Linked DNA regions of Homo sapiens: region 1 is linked to region 2. The links are contacts of gene promoters, found by promoter capture Hi-C in human tissues and cell types (Jung and others, 2019). All regions are on one chromosome and are shown on one strand. The core of a region is centred on a gene start or on the middle of the fragment in contact, and the rest is flanking DNA. Distances in the headings are between cores, read along the strand shown. Region 1 overlaps LOC107986931 (a long non-coding RNA gene). Region 2 holds the start of STC1 (stanniocalcin 1).

Region 1 (5,062 bases), core at 2,064-4,563, 280 kb after region 2:
CAAAGGATTTCAAATGCATGTTGTTGGTGGCTCCAGGGGATACTGGGGTTTCTGGTTTGCAGAAGCCCTGTAGGGGGCCAGGAAACAGAATGAGAAGTACCATATTCCTCAGTGGAATAAGACCTCAGGGTCTTATCATCAGACTCTAGTGCAAATCCTTTTTGCTTTTCTTCATGGAATTCCATCCATCTTATAAGCTCCACAAATAAATGTCTATTCATAAATATATTAAGTACTTGGCTTTTAGAAGCAGAGGAAAGAAAAGGGTATTAATTCTACTAATGTTTACCAGGATAAGGAATGTGAGGTACAAGCTGTGAGGAGCTTTCCCTAGATTTCTGCCTAAAGGAAATGTCCAATAAGCTTATTAATAATTGATTTCTGTTTTTCTGGGGTTTTCAGGATTTCTTGGGCTGCCATCTTCTTGCTCCATCCATGTACTAATAAATCCATTGGTTAATTGTACTTACCTGATATTTATGGATACCAGATACTGGCTAGGTGCTGCTAAGGAAAAATAATTTAATCACAGTCCCTTCCTACATGTAATGCAGAGTCTAGAGGCATGAAAATAATTCCGTAGTTCAAAATAGCATTCAAATGAGTAAAAGTCTATTAGAAAAATATGGGGACAGGAGAATCCCACAAAACCTCCCAGTGACATTGCTGCCTCTGTGGGTACTGATCCTCACAGAACTGTGAAGCAGGTAACATTTATCTGCCTGAATACATTCCAGGATTTTATAGGACAAGAACAGGGCAAGTCCAAGCTGTCGTTGATCTTCCAAGACTGGGACTATAGGAGGGCTGATTAAATGCTATTACTGATAATAATCAGAGAGAATTCAGAGTAAATGGCCCTGTGCTTTCAAATGTAATGCAGATAAAAACTAAATGCTTAAGTGATTTTTTACCATTAACACAGTCATGGCAGGCTATTTCAAAAGCTACTAGTTGTCCTGTTGTAGAAGCCTTTCTCCTAAGACATGGCAAGAGGTAGAATAGATTTTTTAATCCTCCACTTATGTTTCTTTTAACCTGGACCGGAGTAACTTACCCAGGCTTGGATGTCTTCCTCATATTGGTTTCTTACAAACTACAAACCTTATGTAACCAATGATCTGCAAAAGATAGACTTGTTCCTGCAATCTATTTTTCTTTGTTGCCTTGGAAATAGATTAATATCTAAGGGAGGTAAAAACTTTCTTAGAACTGATTTCTCTTTTTTTGAGTCAAGAGAGATAAATAGGATGGAAAACTATAATGCCATATGTAGAGGCATTCAAGTTCAAGAATTCCTTGAACTTTACTTAAAACTTGATTGAATGTGAGCTCTACGTGGAGAGGTGTCTTTGCTTTGTTCACACTGATAACTCAAGCATCTAGAACCGTGCCTTCTACACAGCAGATGCTCGATTATACAAACCCTTGAATCTTCAACAGCCTAGTGTGATCTTCCTCAGGGACATGACAAAATGCGACATGGACTTACAGTGGAAATTAATCATCTAGAGGGAATTTATGAAGCACTTACATGTGCTCATTCTACACCATTAAAAATGTTTGTTGCAAGGAAAGGCATTGAGATTGCTTTTGGGTAAAATAGGAAATAGGAATATTTTCACTTCTGAATTCCTTTCTTGTGCTTCCTTATGAAGTAATTGTCCTTTGCTTATCATCCCTTCTCCAACCCATATCCCACCATTTATTCTTGTTCCAGGAAGACATAGCTCAATCACATACTACATCATGCTGTGAAATTATGGTACAAGGATAAAGAATAGAAATGTCTAACTAAGTAGGTCTAAATAAGTACATATTTTTTAGGGCAACGTTTTTCTAACTTTGTTACTACTGACATTTTAGACCAGATAATTCTGAGAGGTCCATCATGTGCATAGAAGAATGTTCAGCAACATCTCTGGCTTTCACCTACTAGATGCTAGTACCACCTGTATTTTGTCCACTTCCTCTTACCCTGTTGTAATAATGAAAAATGTCTCCAGACATTGGTCCTCTGGGGGAGAGGGAGAAAAATATCCTTTTGGTTGAGGACCACTGCTTTAGAGATATGTTTGGTTTCTCCAAGGGTATTTATCATTATCAAGCTGAATATCCTGCTAAAGGAATTTCAGAGAACTGCAGTACATATAATTGAGAGGAATTTGTTAGGAGGTCTTTTGAAATGCCCTTTAAGGTGACTGTTCACTTAATTTACCTTTGTGAATAGCTGTAATACAAAGACTCTTTCACTCTTGGACCTGAGGTTGGGGTTGAGTAAATCAAGCGTCTATGGGTTATCTGAGGACTCTTTTGATTGTATATATGGGACTAGACCTTAACTTCATATCCATCCCGAGTGACCTTACCTCATTTTTAAGCTTGTTGGAACACAACATGTTTCTATTCTTAATGATGACATAATGATGATGTTCAGATTATGATATCACCATGATAATTATAATAATGGAATAATATTGATGAATGCTTTATATGTGCCAGCCACTGTGTTAAGTGCTTGATATGGAAATAATTCACATAATTCTCTCAACAACACTGTGATGAATGATGACAACAATTGTGTTGTATAGCAGATAAAGGAGATTATATGCTAATTGTGATCATTATTAATAGCTGACTGCAGAAAATATGTTCCTGAACAACTGATATGGGTAGAACACACTGGTAAGTAAAAGAAAATGTGTCATATTCTGGCTGTCTTTAGTTTGTTGTGTTATTCATCTTTCTGCCTTGTAATTATTTGTATACAAGTATGTCTGTCTTCACTAGACTCTTAAACCACTTGTGAGGGTCTGACTTATTGCCTTTGCTATCCCCAGTACTTACCACGTAACAAGCACTTCAATGTGTATTGAATATGTAAAGGAATGAATAAGAGAATGGAGGCTGTGCTGTGTTAAAGAGGACAGCACAAGCGAAGGAAGCTCTGCTTGTCACTTCCAGATTACTTGATTCAGCCATCAGGACTCTAAAAATACTCTCTTCCACACCTCTTGTTGTGGGGATAAGAAGGTCTTAAAGGCTTACTATATAATGCTATACTTGTGGGTCAAAATAAAAAAGAGAGTAACATTTTTGGATCACATATTATGTGTGAAGCCCATTCTCAGATGTCATTTTATTCTTACATGGACCTGGATAGGTGGGTATTATTTCTATCATTTTGAAAATTAAACAACTAAGGCTCAAAAATGCTATTAAATTTATTTTCTTTCAGATTGATCACTATCCTTACTGGAGATAGCACTTTACTGAATTCTTTATTTATGATGCAAGATGCACATTGATCTGACCTGTATCCTCCCCCAGAAAACTCTGTCCTAAAAAATGAGTGCACATTCCAATGTGTGAACTGAATTTCATTATTCTCTTTCCCTTTAACTTACTGTGGCATTCTGGTGTCTCATTTTTTTCATTCTTAAATGAACATTGTTCATTTCTGCCATCAGACCGTGTCAGCGACTACTTTGAAATCCTTAAATGAAAGACCCTACATAAACAACAAATATGGTATTCCAGTGACAGTAAGCAATCAAAAGAAAGTAACTTGGGGCTAAAGTGTCAAGTTTAATCCTTTGCATTCTTTTATCTCCAAGCAGAACCAGGGCGAGTGCATCTCTCCCCAAACTTCCCGAGAACCACACACTAAAGAATTGGGAATTCTGTTTAGTTCTACTGAAGAGTTAAGCAAATCACACCAGTACTCCAGCACATGGCTCCAAGGAGTCTAGGTACATCAAACAAGATGTTCAGACCACTGAGCCATGCCCTCCAGCTGTCCTAGGAAAACATTTCTTAGACTAAAAATGAACATCTCGCTTGTCATCATTGGGCATCATGTAGCTTCCAGGAAAGCAAAGGCTGGTACTTCTTTTAATTTGTTTTGCTGTTGTTAAACTTTGTTCATTCTTGTGGTCTACTTTATTTGTGTGTGAGAGAGGCTTAAAAAAATGTATGTTTTCACTTTATCTCTCTTTTGGTATTTATTTTCTTGGGCACAATCTTATTTAAGGACAATGGGGGATTGCCCAATGGTCAGTAGAGTCATGAGACTGCTATCTAATTTTCCAGTAGGAGGATAAGGTTCAGTAACTCTTTCCTTCTGAAAACTGCCAACCTGTGGAAATTTCCAGTCCCAGTTTTTAGGTGTTATCTTTAATTTTGTGCAAAATATCATTTTGGCCCTTTGATGTTCCAGAACACCTCTACCTTCTGCTATTTCACCCTGTGTGTTGATTGAGACTTTACCAGTATAAAGATGTAACAGCTGGAGTACAGTATTAATAAAAAACAGAAAAAACATCTGAATTCGCTTAAGCCTTTGGACATCTGCCTCTTCCCTTGTGTCTAATCTAGTATGCATGCATGAGTTCTGGGTACCAGGTTAGAGAATAAAATGTCCTAGGACATTGGTGTCTAAAATATTTTCCTTCTTCATGGTATCAGAAAAGATGAAATCATTCAAAAAGCATTTTTCCCTCTGTCGACTATCAACTGTGCAATAGGAATTAGGTTAAGTTCTGAACCAGCGCTTTGGTAAAGCAAATGCCCAATCCGATTCATAGCGTTGGTGACATTCCTTCCCCTAACCCTCTTTGATGGCAGTTTTGACAATGGAAACATTAGAAATATGCACTATTGCGTAAAAAGCTTTTTTATCTTGGGACCAAAAGAAATGCTTTTATGGTTATAAATACACTGAAAGAAACCTCAAGAAAACCTGGAGCAAATTAGTCAATTGCTGTCAAAATGACAGAGGCTGGTATACTTGCCTTCTTACTGTCACTCCCTGGCTGCAACCCTCTGAGTTTCTTTCTAATAGCTTTCCTCCACTTAACCTACAGTATTCACTATATTTTTATTTTTGGATATTAGGCATTCTTTACTTTTATCCTTTGACATTGCTAGCTGAATATTTGGACAAAGATAATTTTTGCCCCAAAATGATATAAAGAGGGGAAGTATACCATTGCCATTTAAATCCTAGTCTTCTCTGAAAGTAAAACTGAGTGTCAATAGTATTCTCTTTAAAGACATAAAA
Region 2 (5,698 bases), core at 2,119-4,618:
TTTGGAAAGTGGAGCACCTCCGAATGGCGAGGAAGACCTTGGAGGTGACCCCGTTGGCGATGCATTTTAAGCTCTCTTTGACGAATGCTTTTCCCTGCCATGGAGGAAGGACAAGAGGGAGGTCTTTAGCTTGACCTGACAAAGAGGATGGGCATATACATGGAGGAATTTAAGGGGGCTCATCTGGGCAACGTATCATGGCCATCTGCATATCCTTGCAATGAGAAGATTGCATGTCTCGGCTAAGGATTGAAAAAAAAAAAAGCCCTCTCCCCATCTCCCTGGATTCCCTTGAGAATTAAGCTCTACCGAAATGAAATTACAGAAAAAAAAGATGAACCGTGATCAACCATTCTGCAGCTTAAAAATAGTCGTAATCTGACTTCATATTCTTGAGATTGAGACTTTGAGAATTCAGATCAAAAGCTAGTATGCTAGGTCATGCAGAGAGAACTTCCTTGCTCTATGCACGTTTTTATGTCCTCTTACAGAGGAAAATCTTTTTGGCTTATTACCCCTGGCCTTATAAGACAGCCTCTACTAGCTCCTTAGAATCATGCATTAGAGTGAGTGGGGCGTGTCTTATACAGAACCTATTTCCTGGCCAGATGAGTGCCTCTGTGTGTGTGTGTGTGTGTGTGTGTGCATGCACACACTTGTGCATACACATGCTGAGATGGGAATTTAGAGTGGGGAAGCTGAGAAGCAGGGCTGGTTCCCTACAAGACTGGTTCCTAAGAACCATGGTCTAACACACTGTTAAAGACAAGCAGCCAGTGGGAGCAGGGGTCAAGGTTTTATTACCTGAGTGTCAAATTTAGCAGCGCTGTACAAGAAGGATTTACAGATGTCATACATCCCATCTGTGTCACAGGTGGAGTTTTCCAGGCATGCAAAAGCCCCGCAGCCGACCTGTAGAGCACTGTTGAGGCAACGAACCACTTCAGCTGAAAGAGACAAATCCATCCATTCTGGGTCAAACAGTGAGGAATGGCTGGGTGGGATCAAGTGGGTGCAGAGGTGAATTTCAAGGACATGAGGTCAGAAGAACTTATCCTAGGAATCTGTCATGAGGGGCAATTGATAGACCCATTTGATTGAGAAAGAGAGGATAGACAGGCTCCTTTTGTTTATGATTGCTGGAGTACATGATGGACAGGGAGGGAGTTCTCTGTTTCAGACACACGCTCCCTGTTTCACCATTACCTACAATTTTGGTGTCTGGAGAAGTGAGGCTCAAGTCTGGAAATGCACAGTGCCTTTAAGCCATTCCATAGAATCAAAGGTCATTGCTTAGCACTTGAAAGCATGGGAAGGAAGGAGACAGTGGCTAGTGGTCAGGTTTAAGAGGTAAAAGGGCCAGGGAATCCATCTAGCTTTGGAAAAATGCACTCCCGAGTAAAAAGCATGGGATTTTAGTCTAAATGGCAGAGAAGACTGTGCCAGGAGTCCACTTGGAGACCCTTCTGATTTCAGGCTTTTAACTTACCGTCATATTGGCAAAAAGAAATCTGATCCGTTCATGTTTCACCCCAACCCTCCACTAGGACAGTGCTTAGAGGTATGCATAATCTCTTTCATATTAAAAGCCTTTTAAAAAAGAAAGAAAGAAAGAAAGAAAGAAAGAAGAAACACAGGTGTGGAATAACCAGGCCAAGGCCTCCCTATGCAAGACTGGAAGAAAACCGCAAAAAACTTGCATGAGGCTTTCTACATTCTGGATAAGATCTCCCATAAAAGTAATTTTTCTCCCACAGAAGGGGGGTGTTCTGGCAGGCAGCTAGGCAAGGAATGATCTGCAGCCTTCATGCCATAGGATTCTCCTCTGAGATCAAAAGCATGGTTCAGTTAGTCTTCCCCACCCCCTCCCACCACCCGCAGCCTCTAGGATGTTACAAGTCATTTCCCTAATTATATATTTCCACGGGTTTAAATTATAACTTTGCTTTAAGCAGTTTTAATATGCATTAGGGCTGCTATTGTTTTAGGCAAGCTCGAATTGTGAATCACTGCATCTCTATAGCAACTAAGTACAAAAGGAAGTGAAGCAAAAGCCCTCCTCTCGGCAGGGACCTGTGCTCTTCCAAGGGGATCATCATCTGCAGCATTTTGACACCTGTGATCCGGTCTTTGCTGACAGTTGGAGGACAGAGGGCAGTATTGGAAGGGGAACAAGTGGAGCCAGAGAAGTCAAGAGGCAGAGGTGTCAATGCAGGCTTCCTAATGATTCTTTTCCTTCAGAAGCCAAGATAATGCACAATTAACTGCTCCAAGAGTCAAGACGAAAGTGAGACCTTACCCTTGGAGAAACAGCTGCTACGTTTCACAATTTTTTTTTTCTAGGGGCTCTCTGGCTACGGGCTGCAGGGACGACTGAATGGAGCCCTACAGAGCCAGGAGGGAGACAGGCAGCAGGGTTGGGGGTGGGATGTATAGGGTTTTCTCTGAATCCGCCCTGGATTTGTCAGACTTGAGGGCTATGGTTCTGAAAATCAGTCTGAAGAGGGAGCTTTTCTGTGTATTCTCTTAGGTAGAGAAGTCAAGAAGTGAAGAGGTAGAGTCTTAAGAGGAAAGGAAGAGGGACAGCATCAAACAAGCCAGGTCTTACCTTAGATCAGCTTCTGGAAAGTATAGAGAGCGCTTTGAAGCATGCCAACATTCAAGCCTTTCCTCCCCTCTCACCCCTCCCCCTCCAAGAGGGTACGTGCCAGATTTCAGGCAATCAGGCTAGGCTTATGCAATGAAATACCCTCAGCAGAGCGTCCAGCTTCTTCGTTTAGTTGCATGCAATTTATTAAACAAAGGAGCTCCACTGCCTAAGGCTATTGGATTACACTGGCAGTTTATTGCCATCAGGCATGAAGCACATTTATTATCAAGATCAGCCGTCACAGACACAGTTGCAAAAGGGAGAGGCAAATGAGGACAGCTCTTTGGGGGAGAAACCGCTCTTGGGTTTGCTGCTTACCTGAGTTTTGAGCCGCCACTCGGGATTTCCTGGGGCTCACAGAGTCATTCTGCTCCGCCTCATGGGTTGCAGAAGCACTGATCACCAGCACCAGAAGCACTGCTGAGTTTTGGAGCATTCTCTGAGAAGTTTCCGCTAAGTTGTTGGGTTTTTTTTTTTTCCTGCCCCCCTTTCCTCTTTCCCTCTCCTGGCTTGAGTGAAGATGTGGATCTGGATACACTGAAAGCTTAGGTGAGGATTTGATGAGGATTTTTTTTTGTTGTTGTTGCTGGTGATGCTGCTGCTGCCACCGGTGCCTCCGCTGCTGCTGCTGCTGCCGCCGCTGCTGCTGCTGCTGCCACCGCCGCTGCTGCTGCTGCTGCTGCAGTCGCTGCTTCTTGCACCTCTGGCTTTTGCAAACTGGGGGCCCAAGAGCTGCACCCAGGGATTTTATAGCCGTTCTTATCGGTCCTCAGGATCAAGGACCAATCAGGTCCCTCAACTGGTCTGGTGAGCCAATAAGAGGGCATGCAATTCAGCTGGAGCTTTTTGACTTCTTAGAAATATTTTCCAGCAAATTAAAAGTACCTGCTGCCAATGTTTTATATGTGTGTGTGACTGTGTGTGCAGAGATGTGTGAAAAAGCTATTTTCGTGGAAGTAAGAGATAACTCTGTATTGATTGAACTAAAGAAAAATCCTATAGAAATCTCTCCAAGTTGCTTTTTGAAATCTAGCCATCTTTTTTTCTAATGAGCCACTTGGGGGAAATGGATAGCAGGGGTATGGTGGGGAAATGTGATCTCTTTAGATGAGAACTTAACCTGCTTACAGCAGTTTTACTCTAATTTTAACAGCACATTCTCGGTTCTGTTTTGTAGGCTACAAATGCAATAACTCCCTATCTTCTCTGTGTGTACATGTTCACATGTCTATGATGCATTTTTGTTTGTATGTGGACATCCTGGGTTCTCACTCACACATTTGAGCCCTTGAGGGGGAATTTATGTGAGTGGAAAAGCCTTGGGGGACTGAGATATGACAGCTCAGAGCTGAAGCCTTAGTCCCCCTACTGATCAACCTATGACTCTGGCTAAGTCTTTTTACCTTGCCCCACCTCGTTTTCCCATCTGTAAAACGCCAAAGTTGGACTCTGACATTCTGTATACCTCTAAAATAATGTGATTCTTCAATAATCAAATCAACTTTGACTTCATCTTTTCAGTCACCAGCAAAATTGCATAGTCCAGGAGTGTTAGTTACCCCAGGTACACATGTGCACACCTGCACATACCACACTCAACAGGGAGACATCATGAATGCCTGAAAATTAATAATCTGTGTTCAAGCCCAGCAACTTTATAACCACTTTGAAACAATAAGCTGGCCAAAGCAAGACTAAACCTGCTGAATGGAAACCAGTTCATTTCTTGGGGAGAGGGGTAGGAAAAAAGGGGGCAGAATGGAAAGAAGGGGTAGAGAAAGACCAGAATGTGTAGGAGAGAAGAATGATAAGCTCTAGACTTAATAGGAAAATTGCACTGCAATCACAAATCATGCCTGGTATAGAAACTTATATTTTCTTATAAGTGAGTTGTAGGCAATGCTGAGGTTTGTCCCCAACATGTGAAGGAGGTTAATGAGCCAGAAGAGGACTTCTTAGGGTAGGAAGGTGGTGAAGGTATTATACAATAAAACCTTTAATAATTTTGGGGAAGTAGATGAGAAATGGCCACTGGTGATTCATACAGATTTGGGCAGGATAATCTTGCAGAGAAATGGGGCCAGTGGCTTTACTTTGCATCCTAAAACCTTCAAACAAAAGTTGAAGAAAGAGTGCCACCCCTGTTAACCACAAACTAAACCAAGTGTCAGCTCTGTGTATGTTGTGGGGTGATAGGGTGGTGGGGGGCGGGGGGGGGGGGGCGGCGGACGGTTCTGGGTGATGATAGCCTATCCCTCACAAAATAGGGTTGTTTGGTAAGTATGAAAGTTTGCTAGAAAAAGGAATAGAAGGAATAAAGGATACAGGAAATATCTAAAAGAAAGGAAGGGAATTTTCAGATTTACATTATATAACAAGAATACATTTTAATTTATATTAACAGGCAGTATTGGTATTTCTTTAGAACCTTCTGGGCTGAGTGCTAGGGGACAATGTGGGAGGATAAATGAGAAGACATAGAGAAGAAGGTAAGTTCATTATTCTTGTCCTGAAGGTACTTACAGGTGAGTTGGGAAGATGACCAGCCACAGTCATACTTCCTAAAGGTTCGGGATGTCAGGACCTCATATAGTAAGACACAGGCTCAGGCAGCACTGGCTGGAGATGGGGGGAAAGCTCTTGAGGGAAAGATCAGTGGGGAAAGATGTAAACTGCTGTTGTTGCTTTTTAAGAATTTAGGAAAAGCTATGCTATTTCATTTTTAAAAAACAAAGCTTGTATTGTGGAAAGCTTCAAGGTTATTTGTATTGCTTTAGTTAGAAGTAGTAGATGCCAGGCAAGGCAATAGAATTTCTCAGTGCTCTCTTCCAGAAAGGGAGTAAGAGGACAGATGCGTATTCCTCCCAAGGGTCTTGACTTCTGTTCTTTAGCATTCTCTACCTCCTTGGCCATTATTCATCATCTAAGGCAGTGCCATTTGTTTCTCTTGGGCTTTCCCTGAGTTGGTCTGCTTGGCTTGGTAGGGTGATGATTTACCACCAGCCATCTACTTTGTTTTTCCAACTCTCCGTTGCTCTCACCAGAACA

Evidence for each region. Contacts are between HindIII fragments. The study calls those that stand out against the background at their distance.
Region 1: a contact is called between a fragment that was not itself captured here and the fragment with the promoter of STC1 in region 2, in 3 of the 25 tissues and cell types used here (heart right ventricle, mesendoderm cells and thymus).

What each region holds. Positions count from the first base shown.
Region 1 is chr8:24,135,674-24,140,735 of GRCh38, forward strand. The region is part of intron 2 of LOC107986931 (a long non-coding RNA gene); the gene reads left to right. Among named protein-coding and RNA genes, the nearest start is that of ADAM28, 160 kb to the right of the region's middle. The HindIII fragment of the contact is 3,882 bases long and covers 1,373-5,062 here.
Region 2 is chr8:23,851,438-23,857,135 of GRCh38, forward strand. STC1 (stanniocalcin 1) reads right to left here and starts at 3,369. Exons shown (of 4, transcript NM_003155.3): 1 at 2,969-3,369; 2 at 805-947; 3 at 1-94. The coding sequence starts at 3,086. The HindIII fragment of the contact is 6,962 bases long and covers 1,377-5,698 here.